3 separate regions of the Homo sapiens genome follow, and all the other regions are linked to region 1. Evidence: promoter capture Hi-C in human tissues and cell types (Jung and others, 2019). All regions are on one chromosome and are shown on one strand. The core of a region is centred on a gene start or on the middle of the fragment in contact, and the rest is flanking DNA. Distances in the headings are between cores, read along the strand shown. Region 1 holds the start of PKN1 (protein kinase N1). Region 2 holds the start of DCAF15 (DDB1 and CUL4 associated factor 15). Region 3 overlaps ASF1B (anti-silencing function 1B histone chaperone).

What was found. The method cuts DNA at HindIII sites, captures the fragments that hold promoters and counts their contacts. A contact is called where the count stands out against the background at its distance.
Region 2: a contact is called between the fragment with the promoter of DCAF15 here and the fragment with the promoter of PKN1 in region 1, in 2 of the 25 tissues and cell types used here (lymphoblastoid cells and spleen).
Region 3: a fragment that was not itself captured here is called in contact with the fragment with the promoter of PKN1 in region 1 in 2 of the 25 tissues and cell types used here (dorsolateral prefrontal cortex and lymphoblastoid cells).

Annotation. Positions count from the first base shown.
Region 1 is chr19:14,431,573-14,434,963 of GRCh38, reverse strand. PKN1 (protein kinase N1) reads right to left here and starts at 1,658. Exons shown (of 22, transcript NM_002741.5): 1 at 1,422-1,658. The coding sequence starts at 1,442. RefSeq lists silencers at 929-1,038, 1,329-1,398, 1,569-1,908 and enhancers at 618-1,190, 1,191-1,764, 2,639-2,918. The HindIII fragment of the contact is 61,187 bases long and covers 1-3,391 here.
Region 2 is chr19:13,950,779-13,954,169 of GRCh38, reverse strand. It overlaps DCAF15 (DDB1 and CUL4 associated factor 15), which reads right to left and starts at 1,661. Exons shown (of 13, transcript NM_138353.4): 1 at 1,526-1,661. The coding sequence starts at 1,657. It also overlaps a transcript of PODNL1 not described here. RefSeq lists a silencer at 1,439-1,578 and an enhancer at 2,239-2,288. The HindIII fragment of the contact is 40,615 bases long and covers 1-3,391 here.
Region 3 is chr19:14,128,773-14,132,163 of GRCh38, reverse strand. All of the region lies in intron 1 of ASF1B (anti-silencing function 1B histone chaperone), which reads left to right. Among named protein-coding and RNA genes, the nearest start is that of ASF1B, 6.1 kb to the left of the region's middle. The HindIII fragment of the contact is 8,412 bases long and covers 1-3,391 here.

The DNA.
Region 1 (3,391 bases), core at 409-2,908:
GGAATCTGGACAGGACATCCGTTTGCAGGACACAGAACAGACAGGCACACGTTGGGACAGACAGAGGGACAGGGCAGCAGGCCCAAGCAACCATGAGAGAGGGATGACCAGGAGCGGGGAAGAGACTGGGGAGGAGATGGGAAGGGGGGACCAGGGCGTGGGTCCAGCCTCGTTGCAGGAATCACAGCCTGTCTGGGTCATGTGTGGGATGCGCCAAGCGCATGCATGCACCCGGGGATTCCTACACAGCCCTCCCTGGGCCGGGGGTAGAGGCAGGGACCCCGGCCCATCCCGGCCTTGAGGTCTGACCTTGTGTGATCGGCAACACCAGATACGCCCAGCTCCTCGGCAAGGCCGGCAGGCCATCAGCAGGACTGGGAAGGCGGGAGGGACCGGGGGTTACCGGGGAGACACAAAGGGGCCGGGGGCAGGTGCAGAAGGAGACGAGAACCCAGTTACACAACAACCACAGGACAATGAACTGGATGGTGAGGTGCTAATGGGGACACTGAGGCACAGACATTTCTCAGATTTGGGTCACTTGAACCAAAGAAGGTTGGCAGTCACCCTGGCCGTGCTTGTCACAGACGGGGAAGATGAGTCCAGGTCAGTGATCCCCACCAGGTGGCACAAGGGGAATCTGGCTGGGCGGGAGGCTGGTGCCAGTCACGTGTGTGTGTTAGCAGGGTGGGGGTGACCCAGCCATGCCCAGCCACCATGCAAAAAAGTAGGATTCTATATATGGGAGCATCCCTGGCCTGTTGACTGAGACACTCCCCACCCAGGAGAAGGTTCCACCTGACAGCCCAAGGGTGGGAGTGGGGGTCCCCATTCCCCCGACCTAATGCAGTGACTCGGGTACTTCCGCCAACAGGTGCCAATCTGGGTGGCGTCTGGAACATCATAAAGCTGTCTAGAGGCGGGGGTGGCTGGAGCTTTGTTATGCGGGGGAAGGGCACGGGCCGGGCCCAGCAGCCTCCTCCCCTCCCAGGGCACTGCGCCAGGCACGTGCCCCAGGTGGAGCGGCACCTGCCGGGTACCCAACCCTGGGGAGGGGGATGAGTTTGGGGGCGGACGAGAGGCACTGGGACGCCCAGCCAGCCACAGACACCCGAAGTAGAGCCTCCGCCGCGCCCCTTCTAGTTCTCCAGGAGAGGCCGAGTTTGAGGGTGTAGCAGGGGTTGCCTCCGGGATCGCCCCCAAACCAGCCCAGTCCACATCGCCACCTGCCGAGAAGGGGGCCTCGCTGGCTCCACAGTCCCGGCCCAGGGAGGGGGCGCCGGGCGCTCCGGAGGCCCCCGCCCTTGCCATCGTCACCCGAGTCCCGTTCCGGGGGCTGGGGGGGCTCCCCCGGCAGCGCGCGGGCGGGGTCCGCCGGCGCCGTCCGGTCGCCCCGGGACTCCAGACGCAGGTGCGCCTACCTGCACGGCGTCGCTGGCCATGTCCTCCTGCCGCCCGCCAGGGGTCCCCGCGCGGAGGGAGGGGCGGCCAGAGGAGCGCGCGTGCGCCCCGGGCGTGGCGGGGAGGGGGCGGGCGCGGCGCGACCCTCCCCGGCGCGCGGCCCGCTCCGGCCTGCTCGGCTCCCGCCTCGCCTGGCCAGGCCGCCGCGTCCCCGCGCCGCGCCCTCCGGCCCCAGCGGCCGCCGGGCCTGGTCACGTGACCCCGGAGGTCGGCGCCCGGGGAGGGGGCGGGGCCGAGGGGGGACGGGTTCCCAGAGGCCCCCGGGGCTGCGGGGTCCCGCCCGTCCGCCCCCTCGGTCTCCCGAGCCCGGAGCATCCCCATCGGCTCCCCACCTTTCCTCTTTCCGGGTCCCGAGACGACCGCACGCTGCCGAGGGGTCCCCCATTGGAGCGCGCGGGAACCCGAGGAGAACGGTTCCACGCGTTCAAGCCGAGAGCGGCGGAGGCCTTTGGGCCTCCCGGGACCCCTGAAAAAAACAAACAGAATAACCCCCCACCCCACCCTACCCCGGTGCATTTGCAAGCTCGGGACGCCTGCATCTGTGGTCCCCTATTCAAGGGCATGGAAGTTTCCCCGTTACCTGGAGACAAGCTCTGGGCGGATCTGCATTCAAATCCTAGCGCTTTACGCCTTGAGGGAGACAAACCCTTCCAGGCACCTCATCTGTGAAATGGGAATGATGCGCTCACCTCCTCGGTGTTGGTAAAATTCAATAAGACAGTGCAGGCCAAGAGCTGAGAACACACTAGACGCTCCATAAGTGTTAGCTGCTGTCACTTTTAATGTTATCGTAATTGTTTGTTTGTTGTTTTGCTATTTTTGGACGGAGTTTCGCTCTGTTGCCCATGCTGGAGTGCAGTGGCGCGATCTCGGCTCACTGCAACCTCCGCCTCCCGGATTCAAGTGATTCTTCTGCCTCAGCCTCCTGAGTAGCTGGGATTACAGGTGCCCACCACCATACCCGGCTAATTTTTGTATTTTTAGTAGAGACGGGGTTTCATCATATTGGCCAGGCTGGCCTCGAACTCCTGATCTCAGGTGATCCGCCCGCCTCGGTCTCCTAAAGTGCTGAGATTACACAGGCCTGAGCCACCGCGCCCAGCCTCTATTATCGTTATTGTTATTAAAAGAGGTTTGAATCCCAACTTGCTGTTCATCCTGGGGACCCCTGTGGCCTCTGAGTCTCAGTTTTCCCCGCTATAAAATGGGCATCGCCTTCTTTTTCGGGGCTGCTGCATGCAGATGGCGCTCCATAAATGCAGACTCGTGCCCAAGCGGAGAGTGGAGGCCTCTGCGGAATTTCTAGGGGATCTCCGGGGTCTGCAGAGCGTGCAGCTTTGTTCGTGGCCGCCGTCGGACCCTCACTCCTTCGGAAACCAGGCGAGGGAGCCAAACCTTGGTCTCCGGGGCTCCGGCAGGGAGCGCTCCCTGGCGGCGGTGCCTGCACATTGGCGCCCTTTGGGACCCGAGGAAGCGCCGTGGGCTGCGGGTACCTTGGTTACCCGTGGCTCTGCGTGGTTTCAGTCGTCCCAGAAACCAGGGCGCGATGTTTTCTCTCTTATTTTTTCCTCTGAGCAACTCTTTGGGAGATACTAACAACAGAAAGAGAGAAGGAGGAGAATTATGCTGATCCAGAACCCATCCAGCCGGGCATGGTGGCGCACGCCTGTAGTCCCAGCTACCAGGAGGCTGAGGCGGGAGGATCGCTTGAGCTCAAGAGGCCGAGAATGCATCACTGTGGGGAGAAATCATGATGCCCCTGCACTCCAGCCTGGGTGACAGAGCGAGACCCTGTCTAAAAAAAGAAAGAAAAAAAAAAACGGCTGGGTGCAGTGGCTCACCCCTGTAATCCCAGCCCTTTAGGAAGCCAAGGTGGGTGGTGGATGGATCACTGGAGGTCAGGAGTTCGAGACCAGCCTAGCCAATATGG
Region 2 (3,391 bases), core at 412-2,911, 480 kb after region 1:
CAGTAAAGCCAGATGGACCGCGCTTGAGCCTTCATCTCCACCAGGGACCCAGGCCACCTTCCCAGTTCCATACCTCTTCAGCCTCAGGTCCCTCTTGACTGAGCCCAGCGTCACCGCCCCCAAGAAAGTTCCCCAATCACCCTGTCCCACGCTGGGCCACCTGCTTCCCTCCCTGAAGGCTGTCCCTAAGCTGTGGGTATTTATCCTACTAAGGAGGCTGGGACAGAGTCCTGACCTGCACCCATCTGTTCCCAACCCACCAGCCTTCAAACAAGGGGGCTCCTCCTCCCCGGGGCAGCTCTGGCCTCTGCTGGGGGCCAGTCGAGGCAGATAGAAGGGTGAGCCTAACCAATGACCCAACGCCCCCTTCCCAATTAACTACCGCCTTCCAACGGAATCCAAGGGAATCCCTCATCCCCAAAACTTCACCGCGGAAGGATCTGCGGGGACTGACAGGCAGAAGCCAGGCACAGGGATATCCGAACAGCCTCAGTCTTGCTACCCAACTCTGCCTTCAAGACATTCCAATCTGATGGGAAGAGTCCTGTCTGGGAAGCTCCCTGTCTGATGGGAGACAGCCCTGTCCACATGGAGGTCTCAGTCTGACGGAGGAAACAGCCTGGCCAGCCAGGCCCAGGCCGACAGGGGAGACACAGTCCCTGCCCAAGGAGCTTCCAAGCTAAGGGCGGAACCACAGCCAAGCCCAGGGAGCTCCCAGGCTAAGGGCGGAGACTGTCCCAGCCCAGGGAGCTCCCAGTCAAAAGGGGGAGACACAGCACTGCCCTTACAAAGCTACCAGCCTCACGGAGAAGGCGCAGTCCCTGTCCACAGAGACACAGCCTTGCCCCAGTTACTGCCCACCTGCAAGAGATCCACATTTCTGCCCTCCAGAGCTCCCAAACTGATGGGGGAGAGAGACATCATCCCCCAGCTCTGGGAGTTTCCAGTCTGATGGAGGAGACAGAGCCTGCTTCGGTAACTCTCACTCTGCGGGGGAAGACTCAGCCCTATCCAGGGAGCTCCCACACTTTCAATGGGGAGGCCCACCCAGGTACTGGAACTCCCAGCTCATGTGTGGTCGGGGCTTGGGCAGGGAGAGGAACATCAGGCGGAGGAAGCCCAAAGCCAGCGGCAGGGGCTCTGCAAAGGGGGCGGGAAGGTTCCATTATGGAGCAACCATGGGAGCAGAGCTTTGAAAAGCCTGGATCGCCCCCTTCCTCCTGATTCTCCCTGCGGCCTCTGGGGTCGCCTCCCTCCGAGCCCCCTCCCTGGGGCCCCGCCCCCAACCCCCTCCATCCCAGCCCCTTTGCCGGTCACCCGACACAACCACCTGCATCCAGGCCCCCAACTGAGCCCCCTCCATCCAAGCCATCTCCCCCGGGCCCCGCCCAGGCCCTGCATCCGAGCCCCCTCCCCTGGGGCCCCGCCCCCAACCCCTCACCCCGCGAACGCCCTCCTCCCTCCGCCTCCCTCGTCCCTACTCCCCACCCTCCGGCGCGCTCCCCACTCCGGCTCCAGGCCTCACCTTGACCCGCTCCAGCTGCTTGAGGACGTGCTCCCGCCGCCGCCCTGCTGCCCGCTTCCCTCCGGCTCCCCCGGGGCCGCCGCCGCCGCTCCCAGCCCCGCTGTTCCGCTCCGATTTCGAGCTGGGCGCCATTTTCACCCCCTCCCTCCACTTCCGGAGCAACCGGCCCCTTCGCCCCACCCCTGCCGCCTCCTCATTGGTCCTTTTTCGGGACAGCGGCCCGCCGGTTGGGCGAAAGCCCGCACTCGCGCTATGCCTGTCCATCAAAGCCATCTCGACTCTTGATTGGTAGCGACAGTAACAGCCCCCGCGGCCCGTTGCCGTATTCCCGCCCCGCCTTAAGGACGTACCACTCGGAGGTCCCGTTTGTTCGCCCTGCCCAGATAACTTTGATCTGATAGGTGAATATCTCTGTCTGTCTCAACGGCGTCACGCCCCCTGTGGCTGGCGGGTTTCCATGGAGACCACAGGCGGTCCAGGCCCTTGGGCGGGGCGACGGGAGCCTGTGGTCCACCAAGGCTCGAGAATCCTCAGCCCCGGGCTGCCCGCGCCCGGTCCAGGTGGGCAAAGGCCTGACGAGCATACTTGGGCGGCAGAGCCAGGCCGAGGAAAGAGATTTACAAAAAAGGAAAAAACGATGGGATTCGATGAAAGCTTGTTTCCGATGGGCGGGTTGGTGGGATGATGGTGGTGATAATGATAGCATCAATCATGGATCGCTCCACATGTGACAGACACGGTTCTGAGCTTAAACAGTTCGATGTGGCAGGGCCCTGTTGTGCCAATTATGCAGATCATAGCAATAAAAATAATTGTTGAAGGTCCGCTCCGTGCATCATATTCGTATACATTACCTCATTTATTTTATTTTTTTAGACAGAGTCTCACTTTGTCACCCAGGCTGGAGTGCAGTGGCGTGATCACGGTTCACTGCAGCCTCGACCCCGGGCTCAGATGATCCTCTCACCTCAGCCTCTCATGTAGCTAGGACTACAGGCGTGCGCCACCACGCCTGCCTAATTTTTTGTATTTTTAGTAGAGACGAGGTTTCACTATGTTGGCCAGGCTGGTTGCGAACTCCTGACCTCAGGTGATCCGCCCGCCTAGGCCTCCCAAAGTGCTGGAATTACGGGCATAAGCCACCGCGCCCGGCCTAATTTTTTGTATTTTTTGTAGGGACGGAGTTTCACCAAGTTGTCCAGGCTGGTCTCCAACACCTGGGCTCAAGTGATCCTCCCACCTCTGCTTCCCAAAGTGTTGGGAGGACAGGTGTGAGCCCCCACCCCTGGCCAGCCCATTTAATCCTCTGAACAATCTAGAAGATAGTTTTTTTTTATTGTCTTCATTAAAAAAATTTTTTTTGTAGAGATGGGGTCTCACTATGTTGCCCAGGCTGCTCGAAAACTCCTGACCTCAAGGGATCATCCCGTCTTGGCCTCCCAAAGTGCTGGGATTACAGGCATAAACCACTGTGCCCAGCTGATTTCAAGGGTTTTAGGAGTTATGTACTAGAAAACCTAAGACCAAAATATGGTTTTTTAAAAATATATCACAACACAATATCACAACATATCTTTTTTTTTTTTTTTTTTTTTGAGATGGAGTTTTGCTCTTGTTGCCCAGGCTGGAGTGCAATGGCACAATCTCAACTCACTGCACCCTTCACCTCCCGGGTTCAAGCAAACGATTCTCCTGCCTCAGCCTCCCAAGTAGCTGGGATTACAGGCATGTGCCACCATGCCCGGCTAATCTTTGTATTTTTAGTAGAGACAGGGTTTCACTATGTTGGCTAGGCTGGTCTCAAACTCCTGACCTCAAGTGATCCACCCACCTCACCCTCCCAAAGTGCTGAGATTACAGGCGTGA
Region 3 (3,391 bases), core at 385-2,884, 300 kb after region 1:
CCCAGCTACTCAGGAGGCTGAAGTGGGAGGATTGCATGAGCCCAGGAGGTCAGGGCTGCAGTGAGCCATGATTGCACCACTGCACTCCAACCTGGGTGAGAGAGCAAGACCCCCATCTCAAAAAAAAAAAAAAAAAAAACCACCCTAACCCCTAAGCCCCAGTTGGGTGACCCCTATTTCTCAGGGGCCCCAAGCCCCCTTTGCACTTTTATCTTCCACATCTGGAAATAGATTCTTCCACATTTAGCTGAGAAATTCAACAGACACTGGTTGAATAAGTCATAGAAGCCAGATGTTCTGACCCAGAAATAACGAAGTTGTTATGGCAGCAGAGCTCATCTTTGATTATGAACAAAGGCAAAAAGCAAACAAACAAAGGAGGCCTGGCATGGTGGCTCACGCCTGTAATCCCAGCACTTTGGGAGACCAAGGCGGGCAGATTACCTGAGGTCAGAAGTTCGAGACCAGCCTGGCCAACATGGTGAAACCCCGTCTCTACTAAAAATACAAAAAATTAGCCGGGTGTGGTGGCGGGCGCCTGTAGTCCCAGCTACTCGGGAGGCTGAGGCAGGAGAATGGCGTGAACCCAGGAGGCAGAGCTTGCAGCGAGCCGAGATTGCACCACTGCACCCCAACCTGGGCAACAAAGCAAGACTCCATCTCAAAAAAAAAAAAAAAGAAAAAGCCAGGTGTGGTGGCTCACACCTGTAATCCCAGCACTTTGGGAGGCCGAGGCGGATGGATCACAAGGTCAGGAGTTCGAGACCAGCCTAACCGACGTGGTGAAACCCCGGCTCTACTAAATACAAAAATTAGCCAGGCATGGTGGCACGCAGCTATAATCCCAGCTACTCAGGAGGCTGAGGCAGAAGAATCGCTAGAACCCGGGAGGCAGAGGTTGCAGTGAGCTGAGATTGTGCCACTGCACTCCAACCTGGGTGACAGAGCGAGACTCTGTTTCAAAAAAAAAAAAAGAAAAAAAAAATGGCCAGGCACAGTGGCTTACCCCTGTAATCCCAGCATTTTGGGAGACCAAGGCAGGTGGATCATCTGAGGTCAGGAGTTTGAGACCAGCCTGGCCAATGTGGTGAAACCCTGTCTCTACTAAAAATACAAAAGTTAGCCAGGCTTGGTGGCAGGTGCCTGTAGTCCCAGCTATTTGGGAGGCTGAGGCAGGAGAAGCGCTTGAACCCGGGAGATGGAAATTGCAGTGAGCCCAGATTGCGCCATTGCACTCCAGCCTGGGCGACAGAGCAAGACTGTCTCAAAAAAACAACAACAAAAAAGCAGGAAGCAGACTTTTTAGCTAGTTCAGCTATACTAATTGTGTACATGTCTTTAGTCTTATCATTTATATATATATATATATATATATACACACAAACACACAGTGGAGGTATGTCTTGCACAGGGACTAGCTTGTGAAGTTAGCGCAGAGAGATAACATGGGACACAGTTGAGTTGCCTTGACATTGCTCAGAAGGTTAGGTACACACGTCATGTGTACAGCTGTGTCCTGTACTCATAGCTATGAGTTCCTGCTGTATTGGTGATTTGTGTCCCATGTATAATTCTAAAGAAAGATTATATTTAGAGATGAAATCATACACGTATGTCTCTACTTATAACACTGCAGCCAGATTTTTTTTTTTTTTTTTAAAGAGATAGGGTGTCACTATGTTGCCCAGACTGGACTTGAACTCCTGGGCTTAAGCAGTCCTCCCACCTCAGCTTCCTAAGTAGCTGGAACCACAGGTGCACATCACCATGCCTGGGCACTTCAGCAAATTTAAGATGATTCTCGACTGGGCATAGTGGCTCATGCCTGTAATCCCAGCACTTTGGGAGGCCAAGGCAGGCGGATCACAAGGTCAGGAGATCGAGACCATCTTGGCTAACACAGTGAAACCCCGTCTCTACTAAAAATAGAAAAAAAAATTAGCCGGGCGTGGTGGGGGGTGCCTGTAGTCCCAGCTGATTAGGAGGCTGAGGCACAAGAATGGCATGAACCCGGGAGGCGGAGCTTGCAGTGAGCCGAGATCGTGCCACTGCACTCTAGTCTGGGCAACAGAGTGAGACTCCATGTCAAAATAAAATAAAATAAATTAGAATTACAGGTGCACACCACCACGCCCAGCTAATTTTTTATATTTTTAGTAGAGATGGAGTCTCACTCTGTCACCCAGGCTGGAGTGCAGAGGCACGATCTCAGTTCACTGCAACCTCAGCCTCCCGAGTAGCTGAGACTACAGGGGCATGCCACCACGCCTGGCTAATTTTTTGTATTTTTTGTATCACCATGTTGCCCAGGCTGATCTCGAACTTCTGAGCTCAAGCAATCCACCCGCCTCAGCCTCCCAAAGTGCTAGGATTACAGCCATGATCCAATGATCCACCTCACCTGGCCCTATACCTATAACTCTTTTTTTCTTCCTTTCTTTCCTTCTTTCTTCTTTTTTTTTTTTTTTTTTTTTTTTTTTTTTTTGACGGAGGCTGGCTCTGTTGCCCAGGCTGGAGTGCAGTGGCAAAATCTCGGCTCACTGCAATCTCTGCTGCCTCCCAGGTTCAAGCAGTTCTTATGCCTCAGACTCCTGAGTAGCTGGAATTACAGGTGCACACCATCATGCCCAGCTAAATTTTTATATTTTTAGTAGAGATGGGGTTTCACCATGTTGCCCAGGTTGGTCTCGAACTCGTGAGCTCAGGCAATCTGCCTGCCTCGGCCTCCCAAAGTGCTAGGATTACAGGTGTGAGCTGCCGTGCCCAACCAGCTTCTGTAACTCTTGAGTCAGTATTTCTCTACAGCCGTTAGTTAATTCTCCAGTTTCTTTCCAGCCCTGGTTGAAAGAGCCATTTCAGCCCCTGTGCCTGACAGTCAACACAGTACATTTTTTCTTTTTCTTTTTTTTCCTTTGAGATAGGGTCTCTGTCGTCCAGGCTGGAATGCAGTGGCTCGATCATGGCTCACTGCAGCCCTGAACTCCTAGGCTCAAGCGATCCTCCAACCTTAGCCTCCCGCATAGCTGGGACCACCGGCACGCGCCACCACACCCAATTAATTTTGTTGATTTTTAATAGAGTCGAGTCTGCCTATGTTGCAGGGGCCCATTTATTTCGGTGAGTTTCCACATGCTCTTTGTTTAGGTTTTGCCGATTAGTATTGACCTCAGCTGGACAACATCAGGTGCTCGTGGGTACACTTTAGTCTTTTTTGTCTACCTTCCCAGGACATGAATTAAATGCACCCGTACAGGATTCTACCGGCTATGAGAGGAAAGGGCTCAAGGATATACACCAAAATGATACAACTGCTTTAGAAAGGAGAGAGCAGGGCTGGCTGGCTTTTCTGTCTTCCCCCAAAACTTGATTCCAGTTGTGTCACTACTTGTAA